Linked DNA regions of Homo sapiens: all the other regions are linked to region 1. The links are contacts of gene promoters, found by promoter capture Hi-C in blood cells and fetal thymus (Javierre and others, 2016). All regions are on one chromosome and are shown on one strand. The core of a region is centred on a gene start or on the middle of the fragment in contact, and the rest is flanking DNA. Distances in the headings are between cores, read along the strand shown.

What was found. Contacts are between HindIII fragments. The CHiCAGO score rates a contact against its expected background, and 5 or more counts as called.
Region 2: a contact is called between a fragment that was not itself captured here and the fragment with the promoter of TMED10 in region 1, in 2 of 17 cell types (M1 macrophages and M0 macrophages). The highest score is 5.2, in M1 macrophages.
Region 3: a fragment that was not itself captured here is called in contact with the fragment with the promoter of TMED10 in region 1 in 1 of 17 cell types (fetal thymus); the score reaches 9.2 in fetal thymus.

Annotation. Positions count from the first base shown.
Region 1 is chr14:75,174,663-75,178,972 of GRCh38, forward strand. It overlaps TMED10 (transmembrane p24 trafficking protein 10), which reads right to left and starts at 1,950. Exons shown (of 5, transcript NM_006827.6): 1 at 1,693-1,950. The coding sequence starts at 1,917. RefSeq lists enhancers at 1,774-2,346, 1,861-2,100. The HindIII fragment of the contact is 2,239 bases long and covers 1-2,116 here.
Region 2 is chr14:77,040,881-77,045,190 of GRCh38, forward strand. It overlaps LINC02288 (long intergenic non-protein coding RNA 2288), which reads left to right and starts at 169. Exons shown (of 4, transcript NR_110554.1): 1 at 169-397. RefSeq lists enhancers at 1-372, 1-4,130, 3,677-4,187. The HindIII fragment of the contact is 1,064 bases long and covers 1,534-2,597 here.
Region 3 is chr14:73,455,139-73,459,448 of GRCh38, forward strand. It overlaps NUMB (NUMB endocytic adaptor protein), which reads right to left and starts at 3,408. Exons shown (of 13, transcript NM_001005743.2): 1 at 3,355-3,408. RefSeq lists silencers at 3,132-3,261, 3,272-3,361, 3,552-3,751 and enhancers at 3,737-4,270, 4,271-4,310. The HindIII fragment of the contact is 3,759 bases long and covers 1-3,601 here.

The DNA.
Region 1 (4,310 bases), core at 700-3,199:
GAAATAAATTACATGTATTACCACACTACTGGGTTCCACTACTTTAACATAAGTTATGGTCTTATTATATCTGAAACCCTTTTAAAAAGTAAAAACGAGGCCAGGCGCGGTGGCTTACGGCTGTAATCCCAGCACTTTGGGAGGCCGAGGCGGGCAGATCACGAGGTCAAGAGATCAAGACCATCCTGGCCAACATGGTGAACCGTCATCTCTACTAAAATACAAAAATTAGCTGGGTGTGGTGGCTGGCGCCTGTAGTCCTAGCTACTCGGAAGGCTGAGGCAGGAGAATTGCTTGAAACCGGGAGGCAGAGGCTGCAGTGAGCCGAGATCGCGCCACAGCACTCCAGCCTGGACGACAGAGCAAGACTCCGTCTCAAAAAAAAAAAAAAAAAAAAAAAAAGTAAAAATGTTTCTATTTAGTATAACAAAAGCCCCATTGTGTTACAAAGAAAAAAAAAGACACTTTGCTTATTGTGAATGAATAAAATTACCTAAAATGCAACCAAATACTGACAGATATCAAATTATATTAATGTCTCAAAGACCAGGCCAGGCTACTCTTAGCTACAAAACAGAATCAAACTGGTATTATGGCAGTAGTTGTCACCATCCAAGAGCATAGTTGGTATTTACATAAAAGAGCCAAGTCCAGATTCTGGCATACCAAAGAAAAAGGACTAGAGACTGAGACCATTTTGTAACCAATAATCGACTTTAATCAACTACAGAAATTACAAATTTAAAACAAGGAAGGAATAAGGTTGCAGCGCTTTTCCCTCAACATACTTAACTACCAAACTAAGTAAGAATCTATTCCATCGCAAGGACAGAAAACCAAACACCGCATGTTCTCACTCATAGGTGGGAATTGAACAATGAGAACACTTGGACACAGGGTGGGGAACATCACACACCGGGGCCTGTCGTGGGGTGGGGGGAGGTGGGAGGGATAGCATTAGGAGACATACCTAATGTAAATGACGAGTTAATGGGTGCAGCACACCAACACGGCACATGTATACATATGTAACAAACCTGAAAGTTGTGCGCATGTACCCTAGAACTTAAAGTATAATAATAATTTTGAAAAAAAAAAAAGAATCTATTCCATCTGTGACACTTACTAGTTTATCCTACCTCTGAGTCTCAGTTTCCTCATTTGTAAAATGGGGCTAACAGTACCTACCTACTTCATAGGGTAGTGCATGAACCAAATGGTAATATATGCAAAGTAGCACAGTAACTGACACAGCAGATGCTCAATAAATAACATTTTATTAATCACGGTTAGCTCTGTCTCCTTTACTTTCCTGCAGGTATCGCGGTATCTTATGATGCCAATCCGTATAAATATTCAACACCCCAACATTTATTTGGAGAACCAAATTACGGTTCAATGTATCTGAGACCAAAACTGGTATAGGACGTTGACAACCGCCCCAGCTCAGGTGTCACCACATCCGCCAAAGCCTCGCAGCCCTTCTTGGGGTTCCCAGGCGTTGGTGACCCGCCCCGCCCCGCGACAGGCAACCAGCGGGGTGAGGGGGCGGGCTCCACCGCACGTCCTTTGCGCTCCCGGGAGGCCAGAACAACTCCCAGGCCTCCGCCGGCCCGACTCCCCCGAACCCGAGCCTCCCCTCGCCTAAGCCTGCCGTCTTCCCTCCCGGCCCCACGTCGCCCAATGCCGCACCTTGAGGTGGCTGCGCAGGCCGCCAGCGCCCCCAGACTGGTCGGAGATCTCGTACGCGCCAGTCACTAGCAGGTCCTTGTGAATCTCCTCACGGAGGCACTTGCGAGAGTTAATGGGCAGATGGAAGGAGATGGCAAGGACCAATCTGGGGCCGAGCAGGAACAAAAGCAGCAACGCTAACGGAAAAGGGCCGCGCCGGGCTGGTGGGCCAGACAAACCAGACATGGTGCTGGAGACTCGTTCACCACCGAAGGCCTCAACCGCGCCGGAACCGGGGGGACCCACGTGACTCACCTCTGACCTTCTGATGCCGTCCGCGCCATTTTGGAGACTGGCATGTAGAGAAAGACTCTATAGCGAATCTTTTGAAAAGGGAAGAAAGGATAGGTACCATGTCAAAACCGCAAGTTTAAGCAGTTAAAGAAGCTTTAATAGAATACTATTGCAACAGTTTTATTTTTGTTGAAGTTAGTGACTACTGAGTCGGCCATGGCAAGTATGGGCAGCCCTGGAAGTAATTCTCCTTTAATTTCCGAAAGATGTACCCACGAGTTTAAAGGCGAGTGACACCATAGCAACCAAGCCCCAATAGGAAACAGCCACAAGGCCCTTCGCTGGGCCCGCCCACCGGCCGCCTAGGCGCGAGGGCGGGGAATGAGGCTGTGTCTCCGGGGATGGGGCGGTTTGCAGGCACTCCCAAGCGCCTTTGACACCTTGATGACACCTGGGGCACTGAGACACTAGAGAGGAAAATTTCGAGGAAAGATTTCAACTTGGCTATTAGACAGTGTGGACCTTAGAGAAGAAGTTTTAGGGGTCACCTGATGAATGTGTGCCGGGCAGACATCCGGTTCATGTCCCATAGCAGGGTATTTGGGCTGGAGTAATTGTCTGGCTAACTGAATGTACATGGTATTATTATTATTATTATTATTATTATTATTATTATTATTTTAGCAAACATTGAATGTGTTCTAAGCTATATTCAAAATAAATTTGAATTTGGTATTTAAATTGAATAAAACAACATGTTTTGGTCCAGTCTCAGATGAACATAATTAAGGGGTTAGCAGATAAGCGTTGTCAGGGAAAGTGCGTATGTGTGTGTTTTAAGTTCACAAACACTTTAGGGATCAAATTAACTATTAACATTTGCAAATAGACAAGCAAATTGACACGGTAATAATTCATGCATTCATTCAATGGAGTACCTACTGTGTGCCAGACATTATGCTATGCATGTATGTCAACACGTTTATTGATTTAACAAACTATTACTGGGATACTAGCAAATATTCAGAGCTGAAGAATATATTAAAATAAACGGCCAGGCGCGGTGGCTCACACCTGTAATCCCAGCACTTTGGGAGGCTGAGGCGGGTGGATCACGAGGTCAGGAGTTCAAGACCAGCCTGGCCAAGATGGTGAAACCCCGTCTCTACTAAAAATACAAAAAAATTAGCTGGGCTTGGTGGCGGGCGCCTGTAATCCCAGCCACTCAGGAGGCTGAGGCAGAGAATTGCTTGAACCCGGGAGATGGAGGTTGCAGTGAGCTGAGATGGCGCCACTGCACTCCAGCCTGGGCGACGGAGTGAGACTTGTCTCAGAAAAGAAAGAAGGAAAGAAAGAAAATGGAATTGCTCCTTGGCCTTTTGGCTAACATCAAGTGTAGAAAATAAACGTGGAAGACACAATAGCCCATGTTGGGAATCATTACCTACTTTGATTAACGTTTATTGAGCATCTTCAGAAATATCCAGAAGATGGACTGTCTGCCCTTAGTAATGTACATGATTGGTGTTTTTTTTTTTTAAACTTAGTCCATTTAGTTATTTTCCTAGAAATGAAATCCCACAGACAAAACAAGAACAAACAAAGGAGCTGTAAAGCATTTAAAATTTTGACAAATGCCATACAATAATTATTTTATGAGGTGTCCACTTAGGAGCATTTAGTTGGATTGTTGTATCACTGATCTAAGATAAGATTGGTAGTCCACACAGTACATCCTGATAATTTGCATTGGCCTTTTCCCTGCCAATGCAGGGAATCAGTATAAGCAGTTATCTAATTCATTGTCTACTTGCATTCCTGAGGCTCTGCTGACCAATAGCAAGAGATCTCAACCCATGAAAAAACTGTGTATGTGTTTCCTTTAAATTTCCATCTTACATTTACATAATAGATAATGCAATTTAAAATATTTTCACATATCATAATGATCTCCTCTGACATTTTCAAAAACCCTGTGAAATAGTCTGGACAATCTGTTCATTTTACAGATGAGGAAACCGAGGTTCTGAGAGGCCAAATAATTATACTGTTAAAGAAAAAATACTTCATGACATTTGTTAAAGAACTGTAAAGCAGGCCAGAGGCGGTGGCTCACACCTGTACTCCTAGCACTTTGGGAGGCCAAGGCGGGCGGATAACTTGAGGTCAGGGGTTCGAAACCAGCCTGGCCAACATAATGAAATCTTATCTCTACTAAAAATACAAAAAATTAGCCGGGCATGGTGGTGGATACCTGTAATCCCAGCTACTTGGGAGGCTGAGACAGGAGAATTGCTTGAACCCAGGAGGTGGAGGTTGCAGTGAGCCAAGATCACACCATTGCC
Region 2 (4,310 bases), core at 816-3,315, 1.9 Mb after region 1:
TTTAATAGAGGCTTTTCAGCAAGCTCAAGTGTAAGTCTTTGAGTCATCAAAACCCGGATGTAAACACAGCAGCCCTGCATTCTGCACAGTTTGCGTGTATTTTATCTTTTTAATAATATTTAGCTGGCAACTTAAAACTGCAAGGATGCCAGATATTTTAGCCAGCCACTTACATCATGCAGCATCCATCTTGGGGAGAGTGGTGGCGGGTCCTTTCCTTGTTCTCTTGCTCCCTGCCGCCTACCTGAGACCGCAGGAAATCTGGGTCTTTCTGAAGGCATCTTCTTGTGGTGTAGTCCCCTTGGAACCGCGGCCTTTAGAATGAACATGACATCACCTTGGGCAACAACGACAGAGGGTGTGTTCCTGTAGGAGACAAGACACGGGGAGATCCAAGGTGAAACAGATCTATCATTTACGCTGCGCCAATTTCAGGTGTGTGAGGGTGCACAGTCTGGATCATCAGCCCCCCATTTAGCACGAACTGCCGTTTGAAACACAGTCTGATTTAATGTACAGAAACAAAATAGCACATTCAGATTTGGTATATTTTCAGGCCTGTAATGCCAACACTCCGGGTGGCCTGTTTAATGGGGAAAAAATGAAATATTCCACTCCAGCCCAGGCCTATGGAAACCAAAGAGGTTTAGTGATTTATTTACATTGGGGGTAAAAACGGTGAGCAGTATTCCTTCTCGGCTCGCTACTTCCTGAAGGTTTCCTGAACCTAAACATTCGTTAACATCCCAGGAAGGGAACTTATTTTTCCTGTGGCTTTCAATATTTTCTGCTAAATATATTTCGGCACACTGTTTATCTTGGGCTTCAGCTTTCAGACCTTTATGCACTTTTAACACCTTGAGGCTGTTTCACTGAAAAATGGTGTATGTTAATTAAAGAGGACTTTATGTGCTGGGCATTAAGGCAGGGGGGATTTCTGTTTTGATCTGTCTGTATAATGAGGGGCTTCAGGATGAAACACAAGTCAGAGGCCTGTTAGCTTCGTGAAGCCCTTTTGACAAAGCGGGACCTTGAATGTGGGCCCTTGTATTCAAACACTTGAAGACCACAGAATGTTGAACTGAACGAAACATTTCTTCCTAAGTGCATGGTGAACATGGAGGCCAGGAGACGAGAAAGACTGAAAATGCCCCAAGTTCCTGGGGCTTAGCTGCAATTTCTTTGAACTTGACTGTCTCTGGGTGTCTGCTCGTGATTGTCACGGCAGCTCTGGCCAAGGCGATGCACTCTGTCTCGCTGGAATTTCCTGATTCCAAAGTAGCCCCTTCCAAATAAATAATCAACAAACGCCATCTGCTTCACCTTGCCAGCAGGCACAGAGCTGAAGGGTTAGCTAAAACCTACAATTTTTAGGAGCAGTAGGCTCTTGAGACATTTCAAGATAGGTTTCGACTTGGAATTAAACTAGAGTTAGAGGCAGAAATCAGGTGATTCAGAAAGCAACCCCCCCTCCCTCCCGCCAACTTCCCCAGACAGTCCAGGCAGCTGGGTTTTTGGCTCTCACAGCTGCTAAGCTTTGGCAAGCCAAAAGCATATTTCGTGGTGGTGATTCCTTTCCCAGGTTGACGGACATGTTTCTGTACTGAGCACAAGGCATGTTTCCTGACCGTGTGTGAATCAGAGGCTGCATTTTTATCCAGGGCTTCTGGTGACAGTTTTAAGCTGGATGAACAAAGCAGACCCTGACATGTCCCTGTCATCAAGGTCAAGAGATACAGAATCTATCCTAAATGTTCGCCACCTCTAGCCCAGATGTATTATATTTATTTATTTTTGTTTTGTTTTGTTTTTTGAGGCGGTGTCTTCCTCTGTCGCCCAGGCTGGAGTGCAGTGGGGCAGTCTCAGCTCACTGCAACCTCCGCCTCCCGGGTTCAAGCAATTCTCTTGCCTCAGCCTCCCGAGTAGCTGGGATTACAGGCACGTGCTATCATGCCTGGCTACTTTTTTTGTATTTTTAGTAGAGACAGGGTTTTGCCATGTTGGCCGGGCTGGTCTCGAACTCCTGACCTCAGGCGATCTGCCCTCCTCAGCTTCCCAAAGTTTCTGGGATTACAGGCATGAGCCACCACACCCGGCTATTTTTTTTTTAATCATGCCAAGAGCAGCCACCACCCCACAAGTCAATGGATGCCCATGTTCATGTGTCAGATGTTACCCTTCTCTCTCTCAGTGTTTTTGTAGTGTTTGCTTCTTTGTTGGCTTTGGTGAGAAGATTTACAAAAGCCATTTTGGACCCTTGAGTGCCTTTCCAGATCGAGGCAAGCTCCAAGATTCCAAACAGCCTTGACCTCGTCTGTGTCGCCCCATTATAGCAGGGATGATAACCGGAGGGGAGTCCTTGGTGTAGCCCCTCCATACCAGGGCCCGGAGAGCCAGCTTCCCAGAAATCCATGGATTAGGAAACTCTGTCGTGGGCCAGTTCAGGAGCGGCAGGGGGAACAACTCCCTTTTGTTTTGTTGTCTAGCATGTGACCAGAATGCTGCCAGCTAATTTTAACCCCACCAAAGTACTGCTGGGAAAAAAAAAAAAAAAACTATCTTGCATCTGGAGAGAGAAATGCTGTGGGCTGGATAAAAGCTTTTCAGCCTGTGTTCCTTCCTGTTTCAGTTTCCAAACTTGCATTATCGGTAACCTGAAAAATGATGAGTTTCACCAAATTCCTGGATGTTGTGCAAGAGGACAATGAGTCTATTTTGGGTGGTGTGAGTGTGTCTGGCATAGACACTGGGAACCATTGTTTTCAGGAGGGAGAATGTTTTGGGGTTTCCTGGTGCTTTCCTTATAGGGTCTCAAAGCCCCAAGGGGTACTGCTGGGGGGAGAAACCCTCCATGGCAACCATGGAGGCTGTGCTCTGCAAAAGACCTGGCTGAGAATTGGGTGGTTAGGCCAGTGGGTGGGGGTGAGGGGTGACGTGGCAGTGGTGGCTCCAGAGGTGTTAAAAGGTGCTCTGTAGGGAGTGTTTGAGGTAGAACGACTGGAGCAGGAAGAAGTGGGGAGAGAGAGATGCTTTCACTGTGGCTGGGCGGCCCCCTGGGACACAGGGCACCTCTTCTACTAATTCTCCATATCTGCTTTTAGCACCATGCGTGAATGGAGGATTATATGGAGTTCCCCACCCTGGATACTGGATTCTCAAAGCATACCTGTGGTGGTTCATTGTTGCTGTCTGGCTGGATGGCAGTTGTTGCTAGTGGAAAAGTCCAGAATCGCAAGACCCAGGAAATGAAATGGTTTGGGTGAGACAGCGTGTAGCTAGGCAGGTGCCGCTGACTGTTCTAGAACTAGATAGTAAGGTGGACTGCCGTTAACCTGAGTGTCCACAACGCAGTCTCGGAAGATAAGGTCAACACTGCAGCACTTGCTGCAACCTCAACCAGGAGAGCTTGGTGGCAGTTGTTCTGACAGCTGCAGAGGGCCTCAGCTGCCTAAAAAGCCATTTGCTCAGCCCTGCCCTGTCTGGCCAACTTCTGTGTATTTCAAGGATCCTCATGGGTCTCTGTGGCCCCCCTCTTTTCTGAGTCCTCAGGCAGACACCATCTTCGGAAGGGCAGGGAACCCCATGTTCTGCTTCTAACTGGCTGCTATAACCTGCCAGCAGTAGTCAAGATCAGTTGGCAAATCCCTAAATTAAGGTTCTGTTTATTTTGTTGTTTCAAAGGCTTGTTTTGAGCAAGATGTTGTGCTTTAATTAAAAAGATGAGAGATCATGAGTAAGTGAAAATATTTTTGAATCTTCACAAATAGGTTTGAATTTCATTTCTTGCGATTCACAGTAGGGGGTCAAGCTGATCAGCACTTTTATCTGTGAGACCATCTAGAAGGTCTTCTGTAAGTTAACAGCTGACTCTTCTGCACAATAGAATTGTAAAGGGAATCCTCTGTCAAGCATTTGTTCCTTGCTGCTTCTCTGTTTACAGATTTTAGCCAGCCTTCAGCTGTCATTAGGGCATATTCCTCATTTACCTTTCTAGCCAGAGGATTCCTAAATGTTTCATAATAGCTCCACAGCTGGAATGCAGCTGCTTGGGGTGGAGCAAACATAACTCCCTATAGGTCAGCGGGTGAGGGAGGGCAGGGAATCTTGGAAGGTTGGGAAAGTCCTTCTAAAGCCAGAGCTCAGGAATGAGTGGGGCCACTGGTGTGAAGACTTTCCAGATGGGGGAAGGAAGGGTTCATTTTCTGCCCTCTGGGTAGATTCCAAAAAATCGCTTTGGGGAGGCCAACTATTTTGAAATTGCCTTTAAAGAAGACAACACAAATGTTTAAACTGACCTGGAAAAGCCTTTC
Region 3 (4,310 bases), core at 472-2,971, 1.7 Mb before region 1:
CTAAAAATTATTTTTGAGAGAGAAAAAAATAAACCAAAAATCCTGATGCAAAGCTATACCAACAGTTTCTTCACAATTTCATAAAACATTAATGAAGAGGTTACATAATCCCCTGGATTAAAGATTTTAAAGAAAGCTGCAAGGATCTCTTTCAGTTTTCAATACTGCTTCCTGTTCTTAACAGCCATAAAAACAGATCTAAATCAACTCCTAAATATAAACCATCTAGCTTTCAATGGAAGAAAAATCAAACCACGTACAGATAAAACATACATATTCTTTTTAAAAACACGCTGTAAATTACATTTAGGTTCCTCAAACAAGTTAAGTTTACAACATGTACCACATCCAGTTTATTCTCAAGGGAGAAAACCATTAAACAAAAGCTCCCTCTTAATAAATGATTTACTTTGTAGTTAAGCCTCTATCCCAGGTGCATTTTGCTGTCACATATTACCACTATTTCTTTTCTCTACAAAGACCTAGAAACTGTATATCTAGTTCCTTTAAAAATATCTGTATATGTTTTATATTAGTGTAAGGATAAGAAATACTTAATATTTTTACTCTCTAAAAAGGAAATATCTTTTCATTTTTCTCTTTTGCAGTGTTTCTTACTTTGTTTTTGCTTATTTTCTATACATGAAATTTTCTCAAGTCAGTCCATTTCAGTGTTGTTTACTGTCAATATGTCTGTGTATACTCAGGCTTTTACAAACAATGCTTTACGGTACAGTGATAAAAAAGAAAGGGTGAACAAGAGGGCACAAGTGAAACAAAAGCGGACAACATCTGAGAAACACCATTCAATTTCTCTGCCTCAGATTCCCTTAAGTTCTCATGCCAAAGATTCTCAATATCCAAAAAAGTTCCAGAGTCAGAGGCATAACACAATATGTGACAAGACAAACACAGGAGGAACCAAATCAGAAACTGAAGAAATTTAATGGAATATAATACTCCCAAAAAAACCTTTTTTTTTTTTTTTAAGATGGAGTTTCACTCTTGTTGCCCAGACTGGAATGCAATGGCATGATCTCGGCTCACTGCAACCTCCACCTCCGGGGTTCAAGCAATTCTCCAGCCTCAGCCTTCCAAGTAGCTGGGATTACAGGCACGCGCCACCACGCCCAGCTAATTTTGTATTTTTTTTAAAGATGGGGGTCTCACCATGTTGGTCAGGCTGATCTTGAACTCCTGACCTCAAGTGATCCGCCCGCCTTGGCCTCCCAAAGTGCTGGGATTATAGGCGTGAGCCACCGCACCCAGCTTTCAGACTTTTTTAACTGTAAGAAATATATTTTATCCTTTGGCCAGGAACTCAAAAAAAGAAATACACTTTACATTGTGACCTAGTACATACATGTAGGAGAAAAGTTTCCCAAAACAATACTTTTCCTTACCAAATGCAATGTCAGTTTATTCTGTTCTACATTTTATTTTCAATGCAGGTAAAAACTCACAACATTGATTTTATAAATTACTAATAAATCACAATCCACAGTTTGAAAAACACAGGCTAAAAATGAGTATCCTTTATAATAGGATCTTTTAGGCAATTTGCCTCTACCTGTCTCTTTAGCAGGTATTTTAAAGTTGCTACCATTATTACCGGTTTCATTAAAGTAAGTGGTTCTTAAAGTGTGGTCCTCTGACCAACGTGATCATCATTTGAGATAAATATAAATTATTGGGCCCCACCCCAGACCTACTGAAACCCCCAGGTGGGGCCAAGCAATCTACATTTTACCAAGCCCTCCAGGTGATTTTGATGCAAGCTAACATCTGCGAGCCAGGTCTTTACCTTCTATTTAAGAAGTCAGGTCTTTATCGTCTATTGAACAATCCAGTACACACGACTATGTGCCAGTCACTATCCTAAAAGCTCTACAAATACCAACTCACATGAAAAAAAAAACACCACCACCACCTTATAAAGTAGGAACTATTACTATTAGTATTCTGATGAGGAAACTGCACAGAAACTTAGCTAAGTGGTGGAACTAGAACTCAAAACTTCTTTTCACTTTAGCCGAGTATGCCTACCCTCTTTCTGATAAGTATTTACTTCTACTCCTTTAGTTCAGCTACTCCTCCCCTTTTCCCTCCCAAATTCCCCACCCTGTCAATGAACCTATTTCCTAATATTACTGCCATCATCCTAAAACAAATTTCTTTTCTAAAACAAGTCACTTAACCTTGCTTTTAGGAGCTTTGCTTTGGTCCTAGATGTCATCTTGATATTAATTACGAAACTGAAGTTTCTTCTATTTGTGAAGACCTGTGAACCTACATGGCTCCACTGTTAATTTCTCATATATCTACTGTCCTAGCCAGTTCCACGAAACCATTACTCTCTCCTCGGGCAACTTTCTTTCTCTACCTTATCCCCTCCTATAGGGATTCTCTCCCACCTCCGCCCATCTCCGTCCCATTTTGCATGACTCCTCTCCGACCGAGGGAACTTCCACTCCCCTGCTGGCTCCTCACCCCGGTCTCAAACGCGAGCCACTCCTCGAGGACTTCTTTCCTGGTCCCTTAGGGATCCTCAGAGCCGGAGCGGCCAGGCCAGTTGGGTCTCCCATCCCAGCTCAGCTATGGGGGCGCAGGGAGCTCCGGTTCTTCCCCCAGGCGGTGCAAGATCTCTACTCGTCCGACCCTCCGAAGACCTGCTGCTCCTCATCTCTCCAGGAGCCCCCTCCCTTGGACAGCCGCTTTTCTCAGGAGGGTCCCCAACCCCCTCCGAGCGTTTCCTCAGACGCCCCTACTTGGAGCAAGTCTGCTCCCTGTCACCCGGGACCCTGGCCACCCTCGGCCTTCCTACCTCCCTCGGACCGGGGCCACTCCCAGTTCCCCTGCCCCCCACCCCGCTCTCTCCTCACCGGCCGCTGCCGGGCTTCCCGGATTCCTTTTCTCCCTGGCACCCAAGCCGTCCTGGGTATTCCCAAGACACCCCGCCCTTGAAGCAGGTCGTTACAGGTCACCCCCTCTCTGGGACCCTGGCCGCTTCCGTTTCCTCAGATACCTACTCCTCACACAGTGGCCGCCGGTCAGCGCGCTAGACCGGAGCAGCTGGACGTCCCAAGGGACCTCCTGGCCTGACCCGCGCGGGTCCGGCCGTAGCCTACCTTCCTCGGGAGAACTCCGCAGCCAGAAGCCCAGCCCCTCTCCCCCTAGCCCAGTCAGCGCGAACTCGCCGCCGCCCCCGCCGCCTCCGCCCTGGCCCCGGCCCCGGCCCGGGCCCCGACCCGAAGTCCAGGCCCCCTTCCTCCGGCCTCCGCCTCCGGAGTGCTGAGCTGGAGATTCCGCCCCGCGACGGCCCCCAGATCTCTGACCCGCGTTACCGGCACTCACCTGCCGCTGCCCCCGACCAACTCAAGCGCCACTGCCTCTACCTCGGCCGCCAGTGGCCACCAAGCGCCACCACCTCCCCCATGACAACAGGCCCACCCTCTTTCATACTTCTAACCTATCCATTGGATAGTGGGGCGGCAGCTCTCCTCTCTGATTGGTTTAGTATACCCGCCCGTCATCGCTCTTTACCGCCCCTTTTCCTAAACCCGGTATTCGCCCCCGCCCGGACCTGGAGCGTCCTAGCCCAAGCTTTAGTTGTAATTGGTTGAGGGTTGGGCAATTCGAAGTTATGATAGGCTGCTAAAAGTGTCTGTTAAGCTAACTGGCAAGAGACGTGACGGTTAAGGTTGATTCACGCTTGTGCACAGTTTGGTTGCGCAGTAGAAAGCAAAGGAGGGGCAGACGCTCACATTCGTGGTTACCCGGGAAGGGTTAAGTCTTTGTTGTAGAGTTTTCTCTGTAAACTTTTCCACTTCTCCAGCTCACTTCCTGCAAGGAGAAGCTTATCTCTGCTAGCTTTATTCATAGGGGTAGTACTTACAAAACACCAACATTAGAGGTTGTGTTTAAGAAGTGTTTCCAAGCCCTGGGGAGAAAGGTATCAGAGAGATAAAAATGTCCCCTTCTTTTCTTTGGTCTCAATGCATCCAATTTCATTGAAGTTCTTTCCAGGAGCCTCAATGCTAAAGGGCAAAGCGCAAACTTTCATTTAGCAGAAATCAGTCAACTTCGGTTGCAATTATAAATGTCGTCAATAAACTGAAGTGGCGTATTGAGAGTTCTCCAGCTTCCAGATCCACTCCTGGCTGACCCCTGCCAATTGACCAGACAGCCATTAGCAACTTTTTTTTTTTTTTTTTTTTTCTGTGAGACGGAGTTTCTCTCTTGTTGCCCAGGCTGGAGTGCAATGGTGCTATCTCGGCTCATCGCAACCTACGCCTCCCAGGTTCAAGCGA